2 separate regions of the Homo sapiens genome follow, and region 1 is linked to region 2. The links are contacts of gene promoters, found by promoter capture Hi-C in human tissues and cell types (Jung and others, 2019). All regions are on one chromosome and are shown on one strand. The core of a region is centred on a gene start or on the middle of the fragment in contact, and the rest is flanking DNA. Distances in the headings are between cores, read along the strand shown.

Evidence for each region. The method cuts DNA at HindIII sites, captures the fragments that hold promoters and counts their contacts. A contact is called where the count stands out against the background at its distance.
Region 1: a fragment that was not itself captured here is called in contact with the fragment with the promoter of ANKRD16 in region 2 in 1 of the 25 tissues and cell types used here (dorsolateral prefrontal cortex).

Annotation. Positions count from the first base shown.
Region 1 is chr10:7,420,613-7,425,343 of GRCh38, reverse strand. No RefSeq gene overlaps it. Among named protein-coding and RNA genes, the nearest start is that of SFMBT2, 12 kb to the right of the region's middle. The HindIII fragment of the contact is 5,034 bases long and covers 1-4,207 here.
Region 2 is chr10:5,887,025-5,891,615 of GRCh38, reverse strand. ANKRD16 (ankyrin repeat domain 16) reads left to right here and starts at 1,723. Exons shown (of 8, transcript NM_019046.3): 1 at 1,723-2,575; 2 at 3,549-3,769. The coding sequence starts at 2,262. FBH1 (F-box DNA helicase 1) reads right to left here and starts at 1,373. Exons shown (of 21, transcript NM_178150.3): 1 at 1,270-1,373. The coding sequence starts at 1,270. RefSeq lists silencers at 941-990, 1,181-1,900, 2,041-2,150, 2,161-2,440. The HindIII fragment of the contact is 15,491 bases long and covers 1-4,591 here.

The sequences.
Region 1 (4,731 bases), core at 441-2,940, 1.5 Mb before region 2:
TTTTTTTCTTTTTTTGGAAGCATAGAAAGTCAAGGGAAAAAGGAAGACAATTTGCAACTCTGGCCTCAAATCCTTTTTGGAACCATGGCAAGGATCAAACAAATGAGGTTGTTTTTTCATAAGGCAAAGTGTTTCACTGCAAGACATCTCTCCGTTTCTCCCATGCTTATGTACAAGAGCCTTCCTAAACCACAATGCACACCCTCGCCTCTCACTCAAGTGTTCTGAAGGCGTGTTGCACTTGAATATGTTCCTGCTTTGTGTACAAATGCAGATTATATGAAATCTATCATTAATGCAAAACATTCATGTCAGCCTTATTCAGAGATAGGCTTTGTGTTTGTGATACTTCTTTCCTCTTTTATTCAACAAATATTTACTAAGTATCTACTGTGAGCCAGATCATGTTCTATGGGTTGGGGATACAGCTAGAAATAAGATAGAGTCCCTACTCTCACGGTACTATTGTAGTGGGAGAGACAGAACTCATAAGGAAAAAGCAACGTGATACTGGTGATGATAAGTATCAGTCAGAAAAATAGAGCAGGGTATAGGGCCCTGGGGGATGAAGTGTTTGCAAATATAGGGTGATCGGAGAAGCTGAAACCTGAAGGGGATAGAGGAACAAGCAAGCCAGCATCTTGAGCAAGAGTATCCCAGGGACAGAAGGCAGTAGATGCAAGGGTTCTGAGAAAGGAGCACAGTCTGCCTGTGCAAGGAACAGCATTAGACCTCGACTGGAGTCGCCCCAGCAGCGCCAGGGCGCAAGTTTACTAGACAAAGCAGCTGGAGGGGAAGCGGGTAGCAGAAGCAAACAGGCCGTGCCGAGGACTTCAGCTCCACCTCCCGTCGGGTGGGAAACCACTGCAGCGTCTTGAGCCAGGACTAGTGTGATCTGACTCACTTTTTGAGAGCTCACCCTCTTGCCTCTGTGTCGTGAACCAAGGGTAGGATGTGAGAGTAGACTCAGGGAGCCCAGTGAGGATGTGCCTGCCATGAGCTCATCCGAGTCTGGGGGTGCTTGGTGACTTGGTTTAGAGCGGAGCAGTGCTCAAAAGGTAAAAACTCAAAAATTCAGTGCGTGTTTGGAGGTGGAGCCCAAAGCACTCAGCAGCATCTGTTGAATAGGGCACCACCATCTGTTTACCGAAACAAGACTAGAATGCAGTAGAATTGTCAGAAATTATTACTAAAGTATAGTTGTCACTGGTGTGGCAGTTTATAAATATATTGGTCAATAAAAAAAAGAAAAGATAGTTGTCTTTAGTGACTGATAATAAAAGAATATGGTATAACATACTGTGAAGAAATACCAGAGCAGAAAACTGGGATGGAGTGGGCCACTGACCGTATTGGGGTTTACCCCCTCAATTCAGCAATATTAAGAATATTGAGCACAGTTCACATTGGGATGGCTCGTTGAAGCTGGCAAAGCTGCAGAGTTGGCCATGAGAACGACTTTGAGATCTTTCCTTCTACCCCCAGGGTTCTCCAGTTTGAGAGTCTCCAGGCAAGCCCCAGCATCCCCCGGATTCTTATGTCACTAAAATTAAGTCGATGAAAATAGCCTTCTTATTCAAAGCATCTGCAGCTCACCCCTGCAGCTTCCCCCCAGCAGGATGTCTCCTCCTGTCCCAGAATGACAAAACTCAAAGTAAATAAACCCAGGAGTGCAAACAATGGATATGTGGAGCACGTCAGTCACTCGGAAGCTGCATAAACAACCTTTGCTTTCAAAAAACAAAATCTTCATTGTCCCTTTTGGTCCAAGAAGCTCAGAACGTAATGGAACTGTAATGACTTTCATACCATCTTTCCAGAAATGTGCACATGATACTATCACTCTCATTTACAGAAAGGGAGAGAAGGAGACGTATCACCACGTAGTTTACCTTCAGGTCAATGCCAAAGCCAGGATCTAATTCTGCAAACATTCGTGGAGCTCATTCTATGTACCAATGACTATGGTCTATCAGACTCAGGTTCTAATTTTCAGACATGTATTTTTTCACTACTAAAAAATTGCTAAACATTTTTTCTTAGTTGGCAAAAGGAATGAAGAAAAAAACACCTGGTATTTTTTTAAACTGGAAAATATTGGCTCATTCAACATGGTTTATACTATTTAGAGGCAAGAGAAAAAGAGATGGAGATATTTCTGTCTCAAATAATTTCCTGGCTTTCCAAATTTTCCTTTCTTCATCCTCCTGCTCCCCCTCCTCCTTTTCTTCTGCTTCTTCTCCTTCTCCTCCTTTTCTTTAGATGCTAAAGGCATGCCAACAAAAGACTCAGGAGAAATGCCAGCCATACCTTAAAGTTCTGTAGCTCTGTACTTCCTAAGAGCTCAAAGCAGTTGGAAACAAGAGAACACATACAAAAGCAAATGGTGTCTAGCACGATGATTGGAATAAAGCAGTAATAAGTCGCAATGACCCCGATGATAGCATTGTCTTACAACATGCCCCAGGTAGGAAGGCACCAAGGTAACCATCATTATCAGTGTCACTTTTCCTGAGGACTATCTTTGACAAAAATAGATTAAGTTGTTTGTCCAAATTCACATGAATCAAGATTCAATTTGAGTCTTGAGACTTTTGCTAGTCTCTTCCATTTCTGAATTCCAGGTTAGCCTGTTCCTATGGGCTAGAATTGGAAACTTATTTTATTATTAAAGGGAGTGTAAAAAAATGTTTTTTAGCACCCAACTCAATGCTCTGCTCTGGTCACTGGGCATATTGCAACCTTCTAATTCCTCTCAATCCCATAAAGTAAGAGGTTATTTCTTTTCTTTTCTTTTTTTAAGATGGAGTCTCACTCTGTCGCCCAGGCTGGAGTATAGTGGCGTGATCTCGGCTCGCTGCAACCTCCGTCTCCCGGGTTCATGCAATTCTCCTGCCTCAGCCTCCTGAGTAGCTGGGATCACAGGTGCAAGCCACCATGCCTGGGTAATTTTTGTACTTTTAGTAGAGACGGGGTCTTATTATGCTGGCCAGGCTGGTCTTGAACTCCTGACCTAGTGATCTGCCTGCTTCGGCCTCCCAAAGTGTTGGGATTACAGGTGTGAGCCACCATGCCCAGCCAGTAAGAGATAATTATGTCCATTTCACAGATGGCCAATCTGAGGTTCAGATAAATTCATTGACTTGCAAATAATCTATTTAGGGGCACCATGGGATTTGAATCCAGGTCTCTTCATTCTTTATTCTTTTGTTCACTACTCTGGTCTGCAGTATTATTCTATAACTACTCATTTCATAGGAATTTCTTTTTAAGAGATGGAGGTCTTGCTGTGTCACCCAGGCCTAGTGCAGTGGCACAATCACAGCTCACTGAAGCCTCGAACTCTGAGGCTCAAGTGATCCTCCTGCCTCAGCCTCCCAGGTAGCTGGGATTACAGATGCAAGCCACCATGCCTGGCTTCGTGTAAATTTATAACAATTTGTTTAGGAATATGCTCTCACTCCCATTGTCTGCTTTTCAAATTGGTCAGTAAAATTAGCTATCCTTTCAGGGTTTGACAAAGATTAAGTTTCATGAAAGTAATAAAGCATTGGTATATGTGAAGGCTTTGTTTTCAATGAGTACAATATGACTCAAGGCCTTTTAATATCTTATGAATCAGCTGCTAGCTACATTCTTGTTTGGAATATTTTATTTGCATTGTCAGGAAGATGTAACTATTGACTAATAAAACAAAGAAAATAGAAAAAGCCAGAAGGGAAGGCTGAAAGAGCAATTACAGAGGGTGCAAGTCCATGGAAATGTAGAAAACAAATCTGGGATATGATCTGATTTATAATCAATATAGAATTATTGGCCGCATATTGAAGAGTACTATAAGCTTATACTAAAATGCTACGAACGATGTGTATTTTGAACAGGTGGCAGATGAGTAGATGGGGAGATGGAGGAGGTCATACTTCTGAAGCCTCTGTTAAGTGCCAGCCTCCCTCTCTGAAAGAGAAATTTAGTCTTTATAATATTTTGGTGGGTAGGGTAGGGGTAAGTTTTCTTAGTCCTTTTTTTTTAAACAGAGGAAACTGAAGAGGGTAAGGAAGAGGAAGAGACAGGGAAAAAGAGAGAGAGAGAGGGAAGAAGCAAAACTAATAATGGCAAAGCTGGGATCTAAGTCCAAGATCATCTGTCTTCCATGTACAGGCTCTCTCCACTCTAACATGCGGCCTCATGGTGCACATGTGCATCCAGCAGAACCATGGGGGTTTCCAAAGGCCTCTGGTGAATTTTGTAAAAAGATAATAACCACTGGCTTTTAGTAATGCCTTAGGGTAGCTCAAACTTCAATCAACACGAATGATTTTGACTCTTAAATAACATGAACATGAGAACATATATGTGCCATGTAACGTGATGCAGTGGTCTTAGACCTTTTTGGCACCAGGGACTGGTTTCGTGGAAGACAATTTTTCCATGGATGGGCAGTGGGGGATGGTTTTGGGATGATTCAAGTGCATTACATTTATTGTGCCCTTTATTTCTATTACTATTACATTGTAATATATAATGAAATAATTATACAACTCACCATGATGTAGAATCAGTGGGAGCCGTAAGCTTGTTTTCCTGCAACTAGATGGTCCCATCTGGGAGACAGTGACACCCAAAGTGTGTTGTTTATGTCCAGCCTACTCCATAATCTCATTTCGGTGGCTGTCACTGCAGAAAACCCTGCTTCCCAAAGATAGGGGGTTGTAGATGGAAGCAGGCTCTTCA
Region 2 (4,591 bases), core at 474-2,973:
TATATTCCAACCTACTGTGAACCCGTGTGTCCCAATTATGTTTAAAAAACAGGGAAACTAGAGACATAATGCAAGAGAAGATAGTCATCTGAAACTGGGAGAGGGGCAGGGGTAAAAGCAAAAAGCATGAAGCTACCAGATGCCTCAACTTCCAATTTGCACTAACTTCAACGGCAGCAGAACACTGCTTGGCACGCCCTACACTTTTGTGCATTTCAAACAACTTTTATGCCTTCCTTTTTTTCTTTTGCTGGAGTGACAAGGCACGACAGAACAATAACCTGAGCAAAGCTGGTACTTGGACTAGTTCTGTCTCCAGAGGCTATCCACATCACTGTTACCTTAACCAAACTCAATCTGCTCATGAGTAAAACGGACTTATCTTCATGGGCCCATTCCAGAAGTCTTTTCATTTATCTCCGCTCATTTTACCACAGCGGCAGACGCTGGCGGACACTCAACACATGCTACCATCCTGCCTTCCAGAAGACTTTATTACCTGTAATTCTGTAAGAAAGTCACTGACTTGGTTAGGCCTCCACTTCCCCACCTGTAAAACCCTACTGATGCCTCATAGGGTTGTCTTCGGACCACAGACTGCAATAAAAAATGTAAACGGCACTCGTTTTTAGGCCTGGCAAATAGGAGCTACTCCCATTCTACTCCCTAAAGGAATCGAAAACATGGAGAGGTTAAGTGACTGGCACCTAATCAGATCGGGTAAGGAACCCAACACCTACTGATCTCTTCCATCACCCACAGCCTGCCCAGCTCTCGCCGTGCCCTCCACCAGCGCCAGGCCTCCCACATCGCCTTAGGCTTCCCATGCTCAGAGGAGGGGCAGAGAAGCTACCGATGACACAGGGGCAGAGGGCAGCGAAAAATGACTTGCCCAAGGTCAAAACGTCAGAGTAGACGGGAAAGCCTGGCCTCCTAGCAGCCGAGGCCACGTCCCCGCGCTTGCCCCTTCAGCCCCGAGGACCCACACGCTGCGCCTTCCTGGCCTCGGGGGGCAGCGCGGGGGCCGCTCCCGACCGAGTTCAGTGAGCGCCCTGGCCTCCCCCGCGCACCCCCGCCGCGCCCTCCACCTGCCCACGGCCCGGACGGCCGAGCCCCCACGCCCGCGCTTGCCCGAGCCCAGCCTCGCGCCCCCGGGGCCCCCGCTGCCCCACCCCGGGCCCGGACCCCCCGCGCAGGACCCCGGAGGTTAAGTTTTCCACACGGCGGAGCCCCTCCCACACTCCCTGCCACGTCTGCGGCCTCACGCACTGTGGCGCTCCGGACCCGGACCCCGCTGCCGCCGCCGCCGGGCCCGCGCCGCCGGCCGCTCAGCCCAGCGTCCCCCGGCAGCGAGCTCCTCCTCTGGCCGGGACCTGGAGCCCGAGACGCCCGCCGACTTCCTCCGCGAGCTCCGCCCCGCCGCAGCCCCGGGAAGCGCCCGCCGCCGGAGCCGGACTGACGGCCCCCGCGACCAATCGGGACGCGAGACCGGAGGGGGCGTGCTGACGGACGGCCACTAACGCCAATCGAAATGCGCAATCGGTGGGGGCGCGGCCACAGCTACCGGGCCACGCCCCATCCGCGCTTCCGCTCGGGCCGGGGCGGAGCGGGAAACTTTCCCAGAGTTCCTTCGAGCTCCCCGAGTCCCCGCGGAGCAGCGGCGGTCGAGGGGCGGGGACGGGGGCGGAGCCCAGGAACGCCGGCCCCCAGGGGCTGGAGGCTGGGGCGGCCCTGAGGACGCGTGCGGGGCAGGTCACGCTTGGGCCTGGCTGCCTCAGGAGCCACCCTGCACGGCGCCGGGCGAGGCTGTGCGCGCCCTCCCGGACCCTCCACTTTGGGGCTTTGCGGTGTAGCGGCGCGCCCCACTCCCTTACGTGTTCAGTCCCGAATCACGTACGGGCCGCTGCAGCTCCAGGACGGCGGACGCCAGCGCTCTCGGATCCCCAGGCCCCTCCGTGCTCATCCCGGACCGCTCCGTCCCTGAGGAAAAACCGCCCCGTGCCCGGAACCGCGGCTTCTCCCACGCGGGGCAGGCCGGGGCTGTGAGGGGGCAGCCCGCCTGCGGACTAGGCCGGGGGTTTGAGGAGGCGGCTCTGCCGGGGACAAAGCCGGGGGCGTGAGGGGCGGTTCTGCCGGGTTCGGGGCGCGCGGGGCAGGTTGCGTGAAGAGGCGGAAAGTCCCACTCGCCCTCGGCTTCTCCCTGCCCGGCCGCCGGTGTCCCGCCCGCCGCCTCCCCGCGCAGCCCGGCCCGACCCGCGGCGATGGCCCAGCCCGGGGACCCGCGGCGCCTCTGCAGGCTGGTGCAGGAGGGCCGGCTGCGCGCCCTGAAGGAGGAGCTGCAGGCGGCCGGGGGCTGCCCGGGGCCGGCCGGGGATACCCTCCTGCACTGCGCCGCGCGCCACGGGCATCGGGACGTGCTGGCCTATCTGGCCGAGGCCTGGGGCATGGACATCGAGGCCACCAACCGAGACTACAAGCGGCCTCTGCACGAGGCGGCCTCCATGGGCCACCGAGACTGCGTGCGCTACCTGCTGGGCCGGGGGGCAGCGGTCGACTGCCTGAAGAAGGCCGACTGGTAGGTGTGGAGCGGAAAGACACCCCGCCTCCCCTCTACTCGCAGAGTCGTAGCGAGTTCCCTGTGCTTCTCCGTCCCCTTGGACACCGTAGCTGTTCTCAGCTCCTAGTTCTCACCCCAGGCCTGCTCAGCGGCAGGGACCTCCTGCCCAACTTTCCCTTATAACGCAGATGACCTGCAGAGTCCCTCGTTCCTGCCCTTGTGGGTTAACTGGTCGGGGCAGTCACCTCCCTTTCTAGAGCACGGAATAGTGTAGAATATAACCAAAGAGAATGTTACCAAACAATGAAGTGTGTGCACTATACAGATAGCCTCCGGATGCGATGTTCTGGGGACATTTAGCTAAGTTACTTCTGCACCAATGCATTGTTTCAAGTGGCATTGCTCCAATCAATATCCAGAATTCCTGAGTTATACACGCGCTCGTGTGTGTAGAGCACAGTGCAGTTGTATCACATACGTGCAGCCTTGCATAACCACCACAGTCAGAGATACTCTGCTCCACCATCACACAAGCCAATTGCATTTCGTTTGTTAGATTGACACTGATTTTAGTACTCACTAGGTCAGGTTCGTTAGAGGGCGTGAACATCTTTAGGAACATAGGGAAGTACATCTTCCCCACTGGGGCAGGGGAATAGACTTCGTTATGTGTTGAGGGTTGTCTGTGGGTTTTCTTAGCTCTGCTCCAATTCACTGCTATCCTGTGAACTAGCTTATAAGCTGCTTTGTCTCCCAGGCACCCTCTCCTCTAGGTACACGTTCGTTACAATCATTTTCCCCTTATTATTTCTCCCAGGGTCCTCACAGAAGGCACAGAGGTTGCCGGTCAAAGCTGTTTTCCTGCCTGCCAGACCCCTGAATCCTCTAGGTTTTCCATCTGTGCCAAGGATGTGTGTGTTTTGAAGACCTGGCCCCTGGCTTCTAATGTCTCAGCTGCCTCCATCTGACAGCTTCTCCTGGTTGGCCTTAGGACTCCTCTGATGATGGCCTGCACAAGGAAGAACCTGGGGGTGATCCAGGAGCTGGTGGAACATGGCGCCAATCCACTCCTGAAGAACAAAGATGGCTGGAACAGTTTCCACATTGCCAGTCGAGAAGGCGACCCTCTGATCCTCCAGTACCTGCTCACTGTTTGCCCAGGTGCCTGGAAGACAGAGAGCAAAATTAGAAGGACTCCTCTGCATACTGCAGGTACAGCCTACAGCTCTGCAGGTGAGCAGTACACACATGTGGCTGCTTCACCCAGCACTGCCCAACCGCATCTTGTTCAGGTCACCTTCAGGGGAAAGGAGGATTTTGGAAAACAGAAGGCAGAGAATAAGAACATCTGGGGGGGAGGGGGTGGGGGCGGGGGCGCGGGTGCAGTGGCTCACGCCTGTAATCCCAGCACTTTGGGAGGCCGGAGGCGGGTGGATCACCTGAGGTCAGGCGTTCAAGACCAGCCTGGCCAACATGGTGAAACGCCGTCTCTACTAAAAATACAAAAAATTAGCCGGGCGTGGTGGCGGCTGCTTGTAATCCCAGCTACTGGGGAGCTCCAGAGTCTGAGGCAGGAGAATGGCTTGAACCCAGGAGGCAGAGGTTGTACTAAGCCAAGATTGCACTACATTACACTACAGCCTGGGCAACAAGAGCAAAACTCCATCTCAAAAAAAAAAAAAAAGCATCTAGGGGCCTTTTGGCATATAATCAATTTCTAAAGTTAACATAACTTGGCTAGCATGCTGTGGTATTAATTTATTTTTCGTGTGTATCTGTGTTATCCTCCCTAGATTATTTGCCCATGAGCTGGTTCTGTAGCACATAGTCTTTGACCTTGGGTAAGGAAATTAGTCTCTCTCTTGAGCAAGTTTCCTCATCAACCAAATAATAATGTCAGTGATGGTATGTCTCAGGGTTGTTGTAGAGTTTAAAGAGCATGATGTATGTAAATCCTTTAGACAATGCTTGGCACATAGCACAAAATAACTGGTTAGTGCTATTTTCTTTATCATGTTTACATTCTTACTCTTA